2 separate regions of the Homo sapiens genome follow, and region 2 is linked to region 1. Evidence: promoter capture Hi-C in 16 types of primary human blood cells and fetal thymus (Javierre and others, 2016). All regions are on one chromosome and are shown on one strand. The core of a region is centred on a gene start or on the middle of the fragment in contact, and the rest is flanking DNA. Distances in the headings are between cores, read along the strand shown.

The links. Contacts are between HindIII fragments. The CHiCAGO score rates a contact against its expected background, and 5 or more counts as called.
Region 2: a fragment that was not itself captured here is called in contact with the fragment with the promoter of PPP1R3C in region 1 in 1 of 17 cell types (endothelial precursors); the score reaches 8.0 in endothelial precursors.

Annotation. Positions count from the first base shown.
Region 1 is chr10:91,631,395-91,638,807 of GRCh38, reverse strand. PPP1R3C (protein phosphatase 1 regulatory subunit 3C) reads left to right here and starts at 5,737. Exons shown (of 2, transcript NM_005398.7): 1 at 5,737-5,852. The coding sequence starts at 5,839. RefSeq lists enhancers at 5,105-5,604, 5,605-6,106 and a silencer at 5,631-5,770. The HindIII fragment of the contact is 3,050 bases long and covers 3,714-6,763 here.
Region 2 is chr10:91,556,479-91,564,327 of GRCh38, reverse strand. The region is part of intron 1 of HECTD2-AS1 (HECTD2 antisense RNA 1); the gene reads left to right. It overlaps LOC105378433 (a long non-coding RNA gene), which reads right to left. Exons shown (of 3, transcript XR_007062244.1): 2 at 7,584-7,813. Among named protein-coding and RNA genes, the nearest start is that of HECTD2-AS1, 51 kb to the left of the region's middle. The HindIII fragment of the contact is 4,513 bases long and covers 198-4,710 here.

The DNA of each region.
Region 1 (7,413 bases), core at 4,488-6,987:
CAGCGCCTCTTATGAGAATTACCCACTGTATCATATATATGAAATTCTGATATGTAAGTAGTCTATTTTATGAACTCTTTCATCTCACTGATCTGTTTCTTTACACACACACCAATTCCAGTTTATTTTTTAAACTTTAACTTTATAACAAATTTAAGCTGACTGGGCTAGTATCTCATTTTTCTTTTCAAAAATACTTTTTCTTCTTATTTTGATTTTTCTGATGTTGAAGTTTCCTATGAATTTCCGTACATTTTGGCTAGTTTCTAATTCTCCCCCTGAACAAGTCATCTCTTTCCCATCTTCCATACACTCACATTAAAGCCTTTTAAAATGCCCTTCAGTAGGTGTTTTAATAATGTCTGCATGGATTATTTCTAACTTACTTGTTTATTCACCCTAATCTTCCGATGAATACAGAGAAACTGCAGCAACTTGATGGAACTATCGACACAAAAGGATGGTACCTCCCCCACAGTCAGATTGTTATTTTATTCTCTGCTTATTTCATTTTGTAGTACTTAGATCTCTAATTTTGTTCATGATAATCCAGCAGATTTAAAAAAATTTTTACACTTAAGATTCTCTCTCTTGGCCTGGCACAGTGGCTCAAGCCTATATAATCCTAGCACTTTGGGAGGCCAATGTGGACAGATCACTTGAGGCCAGGAGTTGGAGACCAGTCTGGCCAACACGGTGAAACCCCGTCTCTACTAAAAATACAAAAATTAGCCGGGCGTCATGGCGCATGCCTGTCATCTCAGCTACTTGGGAAGCTGAGGCAGGAGAATCACTTGAATCTGGGAGGCGGAGGTTTGAGATAGTGCTGCTGTACTCCAGACTAGGCAACAGGTGAGAGTCTGCCTAGAAAAAAAAACCTCTCTCCTTTGACCTCTCCTCCTCATGCTCCCCAGCCAGAATCCTCACCTTTAGCCAAATTCTTCTCCTTGTAGTTACTCAATAAGTCCTGGTCCTCTTTGGCCATCCTGACCCCCAGAGGCTTCTCCTTTCTCTAAAGTCCTGAAGCATGTGTAGCAAATGTGTGTAATATTCACATGATCCATTTGCCACTAAGTCAACCTGATACAGTTATATCATTCTTTTTTTTCATCCGCCCTCCCCTCTCCTTTTCCTCACCTCACCTGAGATACCTACATGTTTCAGGCGGCATCCTGCACTTTCTTTTCTTTTCTTTTTTTTTTTTTTTGAGAGGGAGTCTCACTCTGTCACCCAGGCTGGAGTGCAGTGGCGCGATCTCGGTTCACTGCAACCTCCGCCTCCTGGGTTCAAGTGATTCTCATGCCTCAGCCTCCCGAGTAGCTGGGATTACAGGTGCCCAGCACCACTCCCAGCTAATTTTTTTATTTTTTAGTAGAGAAGGGGTTTGACTATGTTGGCCAGGCTGGTCTTGAACTGCTGACCTCAAATGATCCACCCACGTTGGCCTCCCAAGTGCTGGGATTACAGGTGTGAGCCACCTCACCCAGGCCTGCACTTTCTTTAACCCCTTATTTTGCTAACACTTATGCTTTTCCACCACACCTAGACCATTGTCTGCTCTTACTGGACTATTTTACAAATGGGGTTTGAGGTAAAAACTAAAAAATTTCCAGTAGTGAAAATTATACTTGAAAATCCCTTTAGTGCAAACGGAATGGCTGGTAGCATAGTCTACTTGGCAACAAGCAGATTTGTTAGTCCTTTCACTTCCCCACTTGCCTCTGGGAATATGCCCTTTGAGTGGAACGGTGGGTGGCTGGCACCGTTTCAATGGTGATCTTATTTGCTCTCTTATTTGCTGAGCCACAAAGTTGTATTCTAGTCATCTAAATGCCCTAAAGATGATAGCACATCATATTTAAGTTCTTCCCATTTTCCTGGCCTTCCCAATTCCCGCTACCTCCTTGAAGCTTCCACAGATATTCCACAGCGAGCCTTCTCCTTTCGGGATCTCTTTGGCCTTCGGAGCTGCTTTTTGGTCTTGGTAGCTACCAGTGTGGTGCTTGTCTTTTTCAGAGCAACTCACATACTAGGAGCGTGGATTCTAGAGGGGCTTGAAACCTGATCCTGTCACCTACTAGCTGTGTGATCTTGGACAATTGGCACCTTCGATGTCTTCACGTTCCTCATCTGTGAAATGGGTTTCTACCTCACCGGATTCTTATAAAGATTACATGAGTTAATATTTCTAAGTGCTTAAAACAGTGCCGAGCCCAAAGTAAGCAGTATATGTTTTTCAGGTTGTATCCTTTTACTTAATATTGGAGTTCCTGTTGAATGTAGCTAAAGAAGGAAGAAGAAAATAGTGTACAAGAGCGCTTACTATTAACTGAGACAAATGAATTGGCACCTTTTTTGTTCTCCAAAATGCAAAACCTGCTCCTTTTAATAATAATTAAAAAAAAAAAAAACCAGTTCGCAACTTCCCTGACTCTTTCACTGAAACTCCGTAAGTGATCTTCAAGATCACTTACGAGGTTTCTCTCAGTTACCACTAACTGTGGTTAAAGTACTGACATTTTTATATTAATAACTATGAGGCTGAATTCTCAAGTACTTTCTTGATTAGGCACTGAAAAAAGACAAGCTTGCAGAAAATGAGTTGGCAACTTGGCAACCCCCCAGGGTGTTTTTCCAAAGGCAGCTCTCAGGCAACGTGTTGAGTGAATGCTGTAAGAGACCCACTTGTGTAAGCCCCACAATTATCAGCTCCTTGCTTAGTAGCTTCTTAAAATGTCTGCTGGGTATTCTATGAATTTGTTTTTCTGTAATAATGATTGTAACCTCCTCAAGGTCAAAGGATTATGACTGCTCAGACTTTGTAACCCCTGGCATGGAGCTGGAACTACTGCATAGCTCAATAATTTCCTGCTGATAGATTGATTGTTAAGATGGGTAGGACCAAGCAATGTTTAGATGCTGCCAAACCACAGTGGGAGAAATCCTACGAATAATAGTACAACTCCCCACGATTCCTTTCTACTCTGTCTTCATTGGTGCAACCTACAACTAAGAACACTGATTCCATCCTAGTTTCTCTCATCCAATAATGAAGGGGAGCAAAAGCTGGGAAGGAGACAGAAGTGAAAAGCCTGGATCATCCAATTTAGAGGTTTATTGAGTGAGTGTTGAGTCCTTTTAGGAGAAAGCATGGTCTCCCTGAATCTTCCATTTGAAGGAGCTGAAAGGGAGAGTGACTTCTATGGCATTAGTCAACACCAGGGGGCAGGAGAGAAAGCTGTATGAATGGAACAGGCTGAAAGGGTGGTGTGAGTAAATGGCACAAGCATGTGAAAATTTCCACCACGGTTCTTGGCACCTAGCAGTACGCTATATGTGTTAGTTGAATCCCAGAGTTTTAACGCCCTTGAAAAATTATTTCTTAATTAGGTCGTGTATGTTCATTGTAGAAAAATTAAGAAAAACAACAGAGCAGCAAAACAACGAAGACATTTTTAATCACTCATAATCTCACCATTCCAAAATGAACTGTTCACATTTCTGTAGAGCACATTCTGTTTTCTATGCATGGATACCTTTCCCTCAAAATGCGATCACCATAAATTGTTATTCATGTTTCTCCATAGTTTTAACTGGTAATATTTACTATTTAGCTCAACATATAATCATGGGTAGAGGAAAAGAATACCCAGGGTTCTAGTTTTGGCTCAGACCTAGCCAGCCCCTGGCAAGCAGCTTGACCTGTCTAAGCTTTCAGTTCCTCATCTGTGAAATAAAGAGTTTGATGCCTATCACCTCCTACCTCCATAATTCTAACCATTGATGGGTCATTAAAATAAGACAATATGGTGCAGCGGTTATTGCTCTGGTATCAGCCAGGCTCTAATCCCTGCTCTACCTGTGAGAACCTGGGCAGGTTTTTTTTTTGTTTTTTGTTTTCGAGATAGAGTCTCGCTCTGTTGCCCAGGCTGGAGTGCAGTGGTGCAATCTCAGCTCACTGCAACCTCCGCCTCCCGGGTTCAAGCGATTCTCCTGCCTCAGCCTCCAGAGTAGCTGAGAGTACAGGTGTGCACCACCATGCCCGGCTAATTTTTGTATTTTTAGTAGAGATAGGGTTTCACCATGTTGGCCAGGCTGGTCTTGAACTCCTGGCCTCAAGTGATCCACTGGGCAGATTTCCTGACCATTCAGTGTCTCCGTTTTCTTTTCTCTAAAATGGGATTAATAATTGGACATATCACATAGGGTTGTTGTGAGGATTGAATTGATAGCACATAGTGTTTGGCACAGAGTAAAGGCTCAACAAGCAGCAGCTATTCTCAATATTTTAGCTCAGGCACCAGGCGCCTTGAGGTGATAGAGTAAAAACTCTAGCTGAGAGATCAAGTAGAAACTTGGGAACTAGCCCGGGTGGAACACAGGCACTGGGCATCGTGCTGAGTCTGTTCATTGGCACCATCTTACTTCATCTTCAGAACGTTACTATCTCTGTTTTACACATGAGGAAACTGAGGTTAGAACTTGCCTAGATTCGTGTAGCTAGTAAGTGTCAATCCAAAGACCTTCCAGCTAGTTTTGGTTGAGCTAAAGGGGCTAGAAGACCTGCCATTAGTTAGATATTTCATTTCAAAAATAAAACCCAGGCATGAAGTCCCTTTCCCAGTGATATTCAGTGTGATTTTTTTCTTCACTCTAATAATTTTAACAATTCCACTGTTTGACAGTTGTTTAAAAGACATAGGAATTTTTGTATATTTTAATTGACTAATGGATAGCTCAATTAGGGGAGCAAAACTAGGATGTGGGTTTTATAAAAATAATTTAGACTTGACTTAGACATTTAATTTTACAGTTGTAAATGATGGTCTAAAAATTCTTCAAACTAATCAAAATAATGAAACTTCAGCGAAAGTGAGTGGCTCAGAAGGCCCATGAAACATACGGCGTGATTTTTTAAATTTTATTTTAACATTTTGATTTCCACACCACTGCCAAAGGACGTCAGAATTGAGTAAGGGGTTTGGGTTGACTGCTGCCTCTTGACCGGCTGTATGTGTGAAAAGGGTCATTTCACTTCCGGCTTTAGTGTTCCCCGCAGGGGAGAAAATTGAAGAATAGACAGAAATACGAAGTGTCTTTTAATTAAATGCCACCTTGGTGTTTTATGGGGCTCGTATGCTTTCCTAACAACATTTGTTAGATAAGTTGGTAATTCCCGGCAGCTGTCTACTGTGTGGTGCATCTGTGAACTCATACTAATCGAAAAGCATGCAGCCAGTTTGGGATCGCGCAGGCTAAGGTGAGGGAGAAATGCGGATACACCGGGTAATGAACGATATAAACATTTCAAATGCGATACACATTCGGTTTGAGCCACATCTTCTGTGTGCAGATTCACCCGCAGTGACCCACAAAGCTATTCCCAAGTAACAGCCGCCCCAAGCCTGAGGCACTGGCGCCCCGCCTGGGCGAGGCTGGCTGCGCTCTCTCTTGGCCGGCGCCCGCTGCATGCGGTACGTGCCTGCCCGGCCCCTAGCCCAGGGTTCCCGTTACGCGGCTGGTTCCAGCTGGCCGCGGAGTCCCAGAACCTCCCCGCGATGCCCAGATAGCTCTCTGCACGTCTCGCCCCGGGGCGATCACGTTGCCGGGGCGAGGGCTGGCGCCCCAGCTGGGCGCTGGTTGGTCGCGCCCTGGGGCTCGAGGCCCGGCGATTGGTCCCAGGGATCGGGTCACGTGCTTGGGAGCAGATAAGCGGCCTCTAGGCGCCGGGCCCTCAGTCTCTCCCAGCGACCGCCGCGGGGGCAAGGCCTGGAGCTGTGGTTCGAATTTGTGCAGGCAGCGGGTGCTGGCTTTTAGGGTCCGCCGCCTCTCTGCCTAATGAGCTGCACCAGGTAGGTTCGCTGCAACTCTGCGCGCTAGGAACACAGGGGAACGCGCAGCTGTGGGGAAGTTGGGGGGCGTTTCAGTTCTATCATCTCTGGAAATGGACACCCCAGGGGGAGGACAAGTGGACTGACTGCGTAGTTGAATCTGGCAACCGAGAGGCCTTGGAGGTGTAGAAATTTGGCTCTATTTCTTAAGCAGAGCCTATTTTAGTAATCAGCATCTTAAAGCAGAAATTATCTTAACGTGAATCAGCTTGAGTTAGGATTTTCTCATGGATGCGGCTGTTCTTTTGGTCCTGCACAAATGTCCCAAAGACTCGGGCAGCTGAAGTGGTGAGAACAGCACTCTGACATTGCTGGTTAGGTGGTTTAGCTTGGAGGAAAAAAATTACAGGACGACGTTTGCATTCATTCGTCCTTCTTATCACAGTTTGCCATAGCAAAATCTCAAGAGTTTGAGCAAACGATTACTTTTAACTCTTGTCCAGGACTTAAAGTTCCAAGGAAATCACCCAAACTAAAACTGTCTTTCTATAAATGCAAAAAGTAAAAAAAAAAAAACAAAAAAACCAAAAAAAACCTCCCATAAAACTACTTTAAATAGCTTCTCCAGACATAGCTTAGCAGAAGACTTCTCTAAAAATCCTGCCTATTAACTATTATTAGACCCACAAATATAGCTTTAGCTTTCATTTGTTTGTTCTAAGTTTGCAGATCTCCCAGAAAAACCCCAGAGCTAACACAGTAAATTCTGCGAGTGTTATTACACACTTTTGTGATAATGACCACTTGCATACATGTTTAGAGCTGCTGTGAGGAGAGTTACTAAAGCCAGACTGAGAAATGTCGTGTACAGTATACACACACCTCTTACTTGTAAGGCTAAGATAGGGAAAAAAATCTTAATACCATAAGCTTGGAAATATATGATGAGGGCTAAAGGTCAGAGAAAAGTCTTCTTTATAGATGCTTCTTGGTTTAATATTGCTGAGCATAGTCATGTTTAAAACTTTAAATGGTTTTATTGTCTTTCTACTTATAAATGTCTATTAGAAAATGCCAAAAAAGAACAAAAACGAAAATAGATAATCTATAATCCTATCACCCAGAAATAATAATTATTAAATTATTAGGAAAGGTGTATTTCCTATAGAGTTTTTCAATATTTATAAGTTTGTATATATAAAATGTATATTTTAAAACACTCCAACTTTCAGGTAATCAGTTTTTCCACTTAAATGTGGACTTGTCATGGGCATCTCTTTAGGTGAATTATCAATTATATAGTTTTTAAGTGCATATGAATTGTTGGCTTGTATTTCAGTGGTTATTTGTGAAAAATAAGAGCATGATAATCAAAGTGCAAAGATGATTCTTTGACTTCTTCTCTAGCCTTCTCACTCTCAAAACTGTTGCATGTTATTTTTTTTTTTTCAAGTGAATTACCTTACCAGAGAAGTGTCAATCAATTTAGCAGCAAAATAAGCCAACGTAGCCAGAGGGAGCAGAGGGTCTGGAACTGTGGCTCCTGAACCTGTCTGGTCATTAGAATCACCTGGGAAGCTTT
Region 2 (7,849 bases), core at 1,205-3,704, 71 kb after region 1:
TTGCAACCTTATTTATCATCCACCAGATTAACTGTAAGAGGGCAAGTGGGGTACTGCAGTGCCCTGTGCCGCCTGGCCTTCTAGTGTTCTAGCTGCAGGCCCAGCGCACTGGCAACTGTCACACTGACTAACATAGACCAATATAGAATCCTCTAGCTTGGCAGGCTCTGGAGACAGAGGCTGTGGCCTTTTAAGCTTTGCATACCCATTGCCTGGACCTGGTACATAATTGGTGCTCAATAAGTATTTGTTCAATAAATGAACAAATTGAGATATGGACTATATATATAAATGCTATAGGAATTTTAGAAGAGATATTATTGTGGACTTTCTCTAGACCTTGAACCTGAGATTGCTGTGCAATAAATTACTGTGTAGGAAACAACCTACAGAAACCACAACTTAGAGTAGAAACTGCCAGCATTCCTTTGAGAAGATGGACACACTGGGTTACCTTGGTTTATGAAGAGTTGCTCAAATGGTGTCTCTTAGTTAAGCAAATATAAGAAGACACCTATTGGTCTGGGAAAAAGATGTAATGGGGACTTACTTTCTTTTGTGGCTTAACAGCAACTGCTTCTCCCTTTGGTTTGCAGTGTGCAGAAGTTGGGTTGACTTGCATAAGAGGCTCAGGATTTTTCTGGGTAGGAAAGTACAGGAGCACAGGCTCCTTTTATGGAGTTTGGAAGTGAGAGGAATGTCACGAGTGTATCCTGGGGTAGCCAAGACCTTGGAATGATTGGCAGAAAATTACTCTAATGTCTTCAGAGTGGGAGTTACTGTGGGGGAAAAGGGTGTCTGGCTTTGTGACTTGGGCTTAACCCAAACCCTAATGATGATTGTGGGAGCCACCAGCATCAAGCTCTGGGCACATGGCATAGCATACAGGTGTGATTAGAGGAGCTGAAACCTGCAAACTGGGTCAGGACCCGGGCCAAGGGCATAACCACAGGGCAGACAAATGTCCTAAGCTAGCAAAGGCAGGGCTTCAACTGCATGAGGCAGCAGGAAGCAATGGCAGTAGTGACCAGATTAGATTTTTAAGTTGTCATTTCATTTGACAAAAAGAAGTCCCTGGAATTCTTATACAATTTTGAGAGAACAGAAAGAGGGAAACATAGTTCTAATAGGCACATATAGGACCTCCAAAAGTGAACTGAAAAACAAAGTGTGACTATGTTTGTATCCCAAGCTAGTGAAGTAGGTCATACCAATTACAGGTTGAGAAACAAAGGAACTTTGTCACACAGGAGGCACCAAATGAGCAGAGGGGTGGAGATGGAAATAAGTCTGCTGTGTGGTTTGTGAGGGACCCACAGTGAGAAGGGTCAAGTTGGCAGTGGTCAGATGGTCAGATATGAGCTTGTGTGGGTAAACGAATGATATGGTTTGACTGTGTCCCTACCCAAATCTCATCTTGAACTGTAGTTTCCAAAATCCCCATGTGTCATAGGAGAGACCCAGTGGGAGGTAATTGAATTATGGGGGCAGTTACCTCCATGCTGTTCTTGTGATAGTGAGCAAGTTTTCATGAGATCTGATGGCTTTATAAGGGGTTTCCCCCCTTTTGCTCTGCACTTCTCCTTGCTGCTGCCATGTGAAGAAGGATGTTTTTGTTTCCTTTTCTGCCATGTTTGTAAGTTTCCTGAGTCTGCCTCCTCCACAGCCCGGCAGAGAAAATTAAACCTCTTTTCTTTCAAAATTACCCAGTCTTGGGTATGTCTTTATAGAAGTGTGAGAACAGACTAATACAGTAAATTGGTAGCAGGTAGTGGGGTGCTGCTGTAAAGATACCTGAAAATGTGAAAGTGACTTTGGAACTGTGTAACAGGCAGAGGCTAGAACAGTTGGGAGGGCTCAGAAGAAGACAGGAACATGTGGGAAAGTTTGGAACTTCCTAGAGACTTGAAGGGGCTCAGAAGACAAGAAGATGTGGTAAAGTTTGGAACTTCTTAGAGATTTGTTGAATGGCTTTGACCAAAATGCTAATAGTGATATGGACACTAAACTCCAGGCTGAGGTGGTCTCAGATGGAGATGAGAAACTTGTTGGGAACTGGAGTAAAGGTCACTTTTGCTATGCAAAGAGACTGGTGGAATTTTGCCCCTGTTCTAAAGACCTTTGGAACTTTGAACTTGAGAAAGATGACTTAGGGTATCTGGCAGAAGAAATTTCTAAGCAGCAAAGCATTCAAGAGGTTACAGAGCATAAAAGTGGAAAATTTGCAGCCCAATGGTGCAGTAGAAAAGAAAAAAACCCATTTTCTGGGGAGAAATTCAAGCTGGCTACAGAAATTTGCATAAGTAATGAGGAGCCAAATGTTAATCACCAAGACAATGGAGAAAATGTCTCTAGAGCATGTCAAAGATCCTCACGGCAGCCCCTCCCATCACAGCCCTGGAGGAAAAAATGGTTTCTTGGGCCAGGCCCAGGGCCTTGCTGCTTTGTGCAGTCTTGGGACTTGGTGCCCTGTCCCAGTGTGGCTAAAAGGGGCCAACATACAGCTGAGGCCATTGCTCCAGAGGGTGCAAACCCCAAGCCTTGGCAGCTTCCACAGGGTGTTGGGCCTGTGTGTGCACAGAAGTCAAGGACTGAGGTTTGGGAACCTCTGCTTAGATTTTAGAGGGTGTATGGAAACACCTGGATGTCCGGGCAGAGGTGTGCTCCAGGGGTGGAGCCCTAATGGAGAACCTCTGCTAGGGCAGTGCGGAAGGGAAATGTGGGATCAGAGCCCCCATACAGAGTCCCCACTGGGGCACTGCCCATTGGAGCTGTAATAAGAGGACCATCGTCCTCCAGACCCCAGAATGGTAGATCCACTAACAGCTTGCATCATGCGCCTGGAAAAGCTGCAGACACTCAACGCCAGCCATGAAAGCAGCTGGGAGGGGGGGCTGTACTCTGCAAAGCCACAGGGGTGGAGCTGCCCAAGGCCATGGGAGGCCACCTCTTGCATCTCACGTGACCTGGAGGTGAGACATGGAGTCAAAGGAGATCGTTTTGGAGCTTTAAGATTTGACTGCCCCATTGGATTTTGGACTTGCATGGGGCTTGTAGCCCCTTCATTTTGGCCAATTTCTCCCATTTGGAATGGGTGTATTTACCCAATGCCTGTAACACTATTGTTATCTAGGAAGTAACTAACTTGCTTTTGATTTTGCAGACTCATAGGCAGAAGGGACTTGCCTTGTTTCAGAGGAGACTTTGGACTTAGACTTTTGAGTTAATGCTGGAATGACTTAAGAATTTGGGGGACTGTTGGGAAGGCATGATTGTGTTTTGAAATGTGAGGACATGAGATGTGGGAGCGGTCAGGGGAGGAATGATGTGGTTTGGCTATGTTCCCACTCAAATCTCATCTTGAACTGTAGTTCCCATAATCCCCATATGTCGTGGGAGGGACCTGGTGGGAGGTAGTGGAATCATGGGGGCGGTTACCTCCATGCTGTTCTCATGACAGTGAGTGAGTTCTCATGAGATCTGATGGTTTTATAAGGGGTTTTCCCCCACTTCACTCTGCACTTCTCCTTGTTGCCGTCTTGTAGAGAAGGATGTGTTTGCTTCCTTTTCCACCATGATTGTAAGTTTCCTGAGGTCCACCCCCGCCCAGCCCTGCAGAACTGTGAGTCAATTAAACCCCTTTCCTTTATAAATTTCCCAGTCTCAGTATGTCCTTATACCAGTGTGAGAATGGACTAATACAATGAAGTTAGATTATGGATGGGTTATGGTGGTGGCAGACCAGAAATGTGGGCATTATTCCCAGAGGCTATGGCTTTTAGGGCATGTAAGCCCAAGCAGTAATTCTGATGGTGCCTTGAAGAATGAGTGGCAGGGGTAGGGGTCTGGAGGCAGGGAGGCCAGCTGGAGGTTTAGGTCCAGGGGATGGCTGCCTGATGCCTCGAGGGCATGGATTGAATTTTCGTCATCCCCAGTCCCCAGGTCTGATGCATAGTAAGTGCTTAAGAAAGACTTGTTGAATTGAATTACAAGAATGCTGTCACCAAGTGGGAAGCAATTTCTAGGTGGTAAATGGAGCTCCTGGTTTCAGAAACTGGGATACCCGGATTCCAAGTGCTGGCATTTCTTGTCTGTCTATGTGACGTGCAACTTATTTCACCTTGTTGGAATTTTAGTTTCTTTAGGTGTGAAGATCATTCAGCCATTCATTCACCAAGCACTTGTTGATCATAGCCAAGAACCACATATTGTGCTAAACTTGGGAGAATCAAAGAGGAACAATATGATATTCCTGTCTTTGAAGACTTTGTGATTTAGTTGGAGAGATACATGTACAAGAAAATCATTTATTACTGCATGGAGTGTGTTTTCATTGAGGGATGCACAAAGTGCAGTGGGATTGCAGAATGATCTCTAACGTGTATTTAGCACTTACCGTGTGTCAGGAACTGTTCAAAGTTCATGCAGGCATTTAATCCTCATAATAACCAATGAGGTAGTTATTTCTATGATCTCTATTTTCTGGAAAGGAAACTGAGGCACAGAGCTTAAGTAACTTTCCCATGTTTCCACATTTGATAGATGGGAAAGGGGCAACTAGCAGAGAGACTAGTACATGTAAAAGCGCAAGAGTCTGAAATAACATTTTGTTTGCTAGAACAGTACATGAGACTAGAAAAGAGTAGGGAACCAAAGCATAACAGGCTTTGAATGCTATATGAGAAAATTTGGCCTCTACCTAAGAAAGCTTTCCGGCATTTTCCAAAGTGTTTGGAGGAACTTAAGATCTGAGGAACGTTAATATAGTGTGTATTAGTCAGAAACAGACTACTGGCTCTGTTCTTCAGAGAACAGAAACAGAATCAATAAGTTATGTTTTTATGTACTTACTTGTTTACTCATCTTAAAGAATTACAGGTTGAAAAAGTCCAGATCTGCAGTCTGCAAGTTGCAGACCCAGGAGAGCCAATGTCCAGTTGCAGTCTGAGTCCAAAGGGCTGAGAACCATGAGAGCTGATGGTGTAAGATCCAGTCCAAAAGCCAGCAGGCTTGAAACCCAAGACGAGCTGATGTTTTGGTATAAGACTGAAGGTTAGAAAAGACTAATATCTCAGCTCCAGCAGTCAAGTGGGAGGAATTCCTTTTACTCAATCTTTTTGTTCTATCCAGGCCTTCAATTGATTGGATGAGGCCCACCCACATTAGGGAGGGCAGTCTGCTTCACTCAGCCCACCACTTCAAACATTACCACTTCAAATATCAACCTCATCCTGAAATACTCTCACAGACATACCCAGAATAACATTTGACCAAATGTCTGGGCACCCTGTGGCCCAGTCAGGTTGGCACATAAAATTAACCACCACAGGGTGTTAGGTGTAAAAAGGTGTCTACAGTTACAGTGAACAATGCTGGCTGCTTACCCATTCTCTTTGCCTTCCTAACAGAGCTCTAGTTTTGTTCAGGAATCTATTCTTCCTCCATGCAGCTTCATGCTTTTTTTTTTTTTTTTTTTTGTCAGTGATTGGTTCAGGAGTGGATATGTGACCAGATTCTGGCCAATGAGACTTGATTGTATACCAGGGAGCTTGCGGGAAACTTCTCTCCTAAGAGAGGCCACGTGAAGAAATGATCCTTCTTTTTCCTCTGTCAGGCCTGAGTGTGATGCCTGTAACTGTCATCCCACTAGTGGCCTGAAGATGAAGCTGACACTGAGGGTGCTAGAGTTGGAAAATATGGACACAAATCTCCCAAGCTTGTCCTACCTCTCTGAACATCTGCTTTGTAAAGCGTCACAAATAGTCCTTATTGTTTATTCCAGTTTTGAGTCAGGGTTTCTGTCACTTGTAGCTATATCCTACAGGATATGATCATAAAATAAGATTGGAGGCTTGGCTTAAGCAAAAATAAGGAGGCTTTTAAAATTCCAGGGCTTCTCACTCAGTGCAACAGCATTTATTATGCAGGTGTACTTTGCAAATATCCAAAGTTGGATATAACACACAGCATTTCCTAAACAGGTGTGACCCTGGAAACCTTTGTGGTGAACAATCCACGGTACTGATGTCCCACAGAAATACTCCCATAGGCAATGGGAAGACTTGGGAATCCTCAAAGTAGGCGGATGATAACATTACATGCTCAATAAAATCCCACCTTCCCCTCTCTAGCTGTATGAAGAATCGTGTCTCTGATGATCATAAAATGTAAGGGAACTCAGAAGTACCTCCCCAGAAAAAGATTGCAAGCCCTAACTTACTAGACTAACTGATTTCTTAGTCCCCTTCCAGTTCTCAAATTCTGCAGGGATTGTATAATTTGGTACATTCATCTCCGAGCATTGAACAAAGTTTCCCTTCCTGTTTTCAGTCACTTGCCAACATCTGTGAATGAAATTGGTGAGGCATATATGTATATATTCAACCAATTTTTTCTGGATTGAATTATTTAAAATAACCCACTAAATGAATCCCTGCTCAGTAGGTCTTTGACTTAAAACCACTCAGGCTCTGCCCACATTTTTTATTTCTCTGGCTCTTTTTTTTTTTTTTTTTTTTTTTTAAGTCAAACAGCCCTAGGGAAATGGCTTGAGGCTACAAAGGGCAGTTTTTAGAACGTTTTCTCTGCAGTTAGTGACAGGGTAGACAAATAGCATAAAATAGAAGGCTGTACTCCATTCCAGATGGGAAAAGTTGCTTCTGTTGCTTTTCTTGATTTATGTTAAATTCATCATGGTTTCAAACTGAAACCGCTTTGGCCCCTAAAAGCAACAGGGGGAAAAAAAAAAAAAAGGAAGAGAAAAACAATGCGACAGATCTCTATATGAAGTAATTGGACCCTTTAGAGATATAAACTGCAAATTAATTCTTTCTCCATACAATGGGAGTACTGGTAATTATTTCCCAGGATGGCACCACGGTTGTGTGAACTAAGAGACTTAGCAAACAGTACGGCTCTTGTGTGATGAGGCGGACACACGGCTGCTGTTTTCTGTCCTCATGTTTTACTGTGGTAAAGTCACCTTTGAGAACAACCTTGGCTCCAGAATGAGGGTGACTTAGTGTGAACTGGAAGCCATGAAAGAAACACTTTCTCTGTCACAGTCTCTCCTTTGTTAGAAAAAAACCCCATTCCTACCCCAAATCCCAAACCTCAAAGATCTTCCTTAGGTCTCCACTTTAATTCTTAAGAGTCCCATGCTGTTCAGCTTGGGTCTCACATTGACTCAGGGTTGCGCAACTCAGAAGTCCCTCAATTCTTTAACAGCTGACTGAGGCCAAACCAGTATGGGAGCTCCTTTGAAAAACCCAGCTAGGGCCAGGAAGGCCAGACAAGTGGACTTTCATTGCAGGTCAAGTATCGCATGTTTCTTCTGACCAGGTAATTATCGGTTATAGGACAAAGAGGAAGCCCGATTTATCAACAAAGTGAAATTAAAAATTAACATGCTCCTGTTTGCTCAACTGTAATCTTTGAATCAGTCAATATCTACAGGCTGTGCCAGTAACCTGATTTCAGGGCAGCTACAGAGTCTGCTCAGAGACCAGCCCAGTTAAACAGTTAAGGCTGAGATCAGTTGGGCAAGACTGGAAATGAAATATGTTTAGGCGATGAATACTCACAAAGTGCTTAGAGGTTTCTTGCTGGGGGCTGGTATTCGTGGTGCGGGTGTGCTGGGTTTGAGAGGACCCAGAGTCCCAGTCTTTCTGGATGATGTTTACTCCAGCTGTCCATCCCAATAAAGGCAGGGGCAGTAGGCAACACATTTTTCTTTTCTCTTCTCTTTTCTTCCTTTTTCTCTCTCCCTGGCCTACCATGGCAGGCCAATATGGCAGGTGGAGGTATGCGGGAGCTGGTCAGAGTTAAGAGTGATGGACTCGTAAGAGAC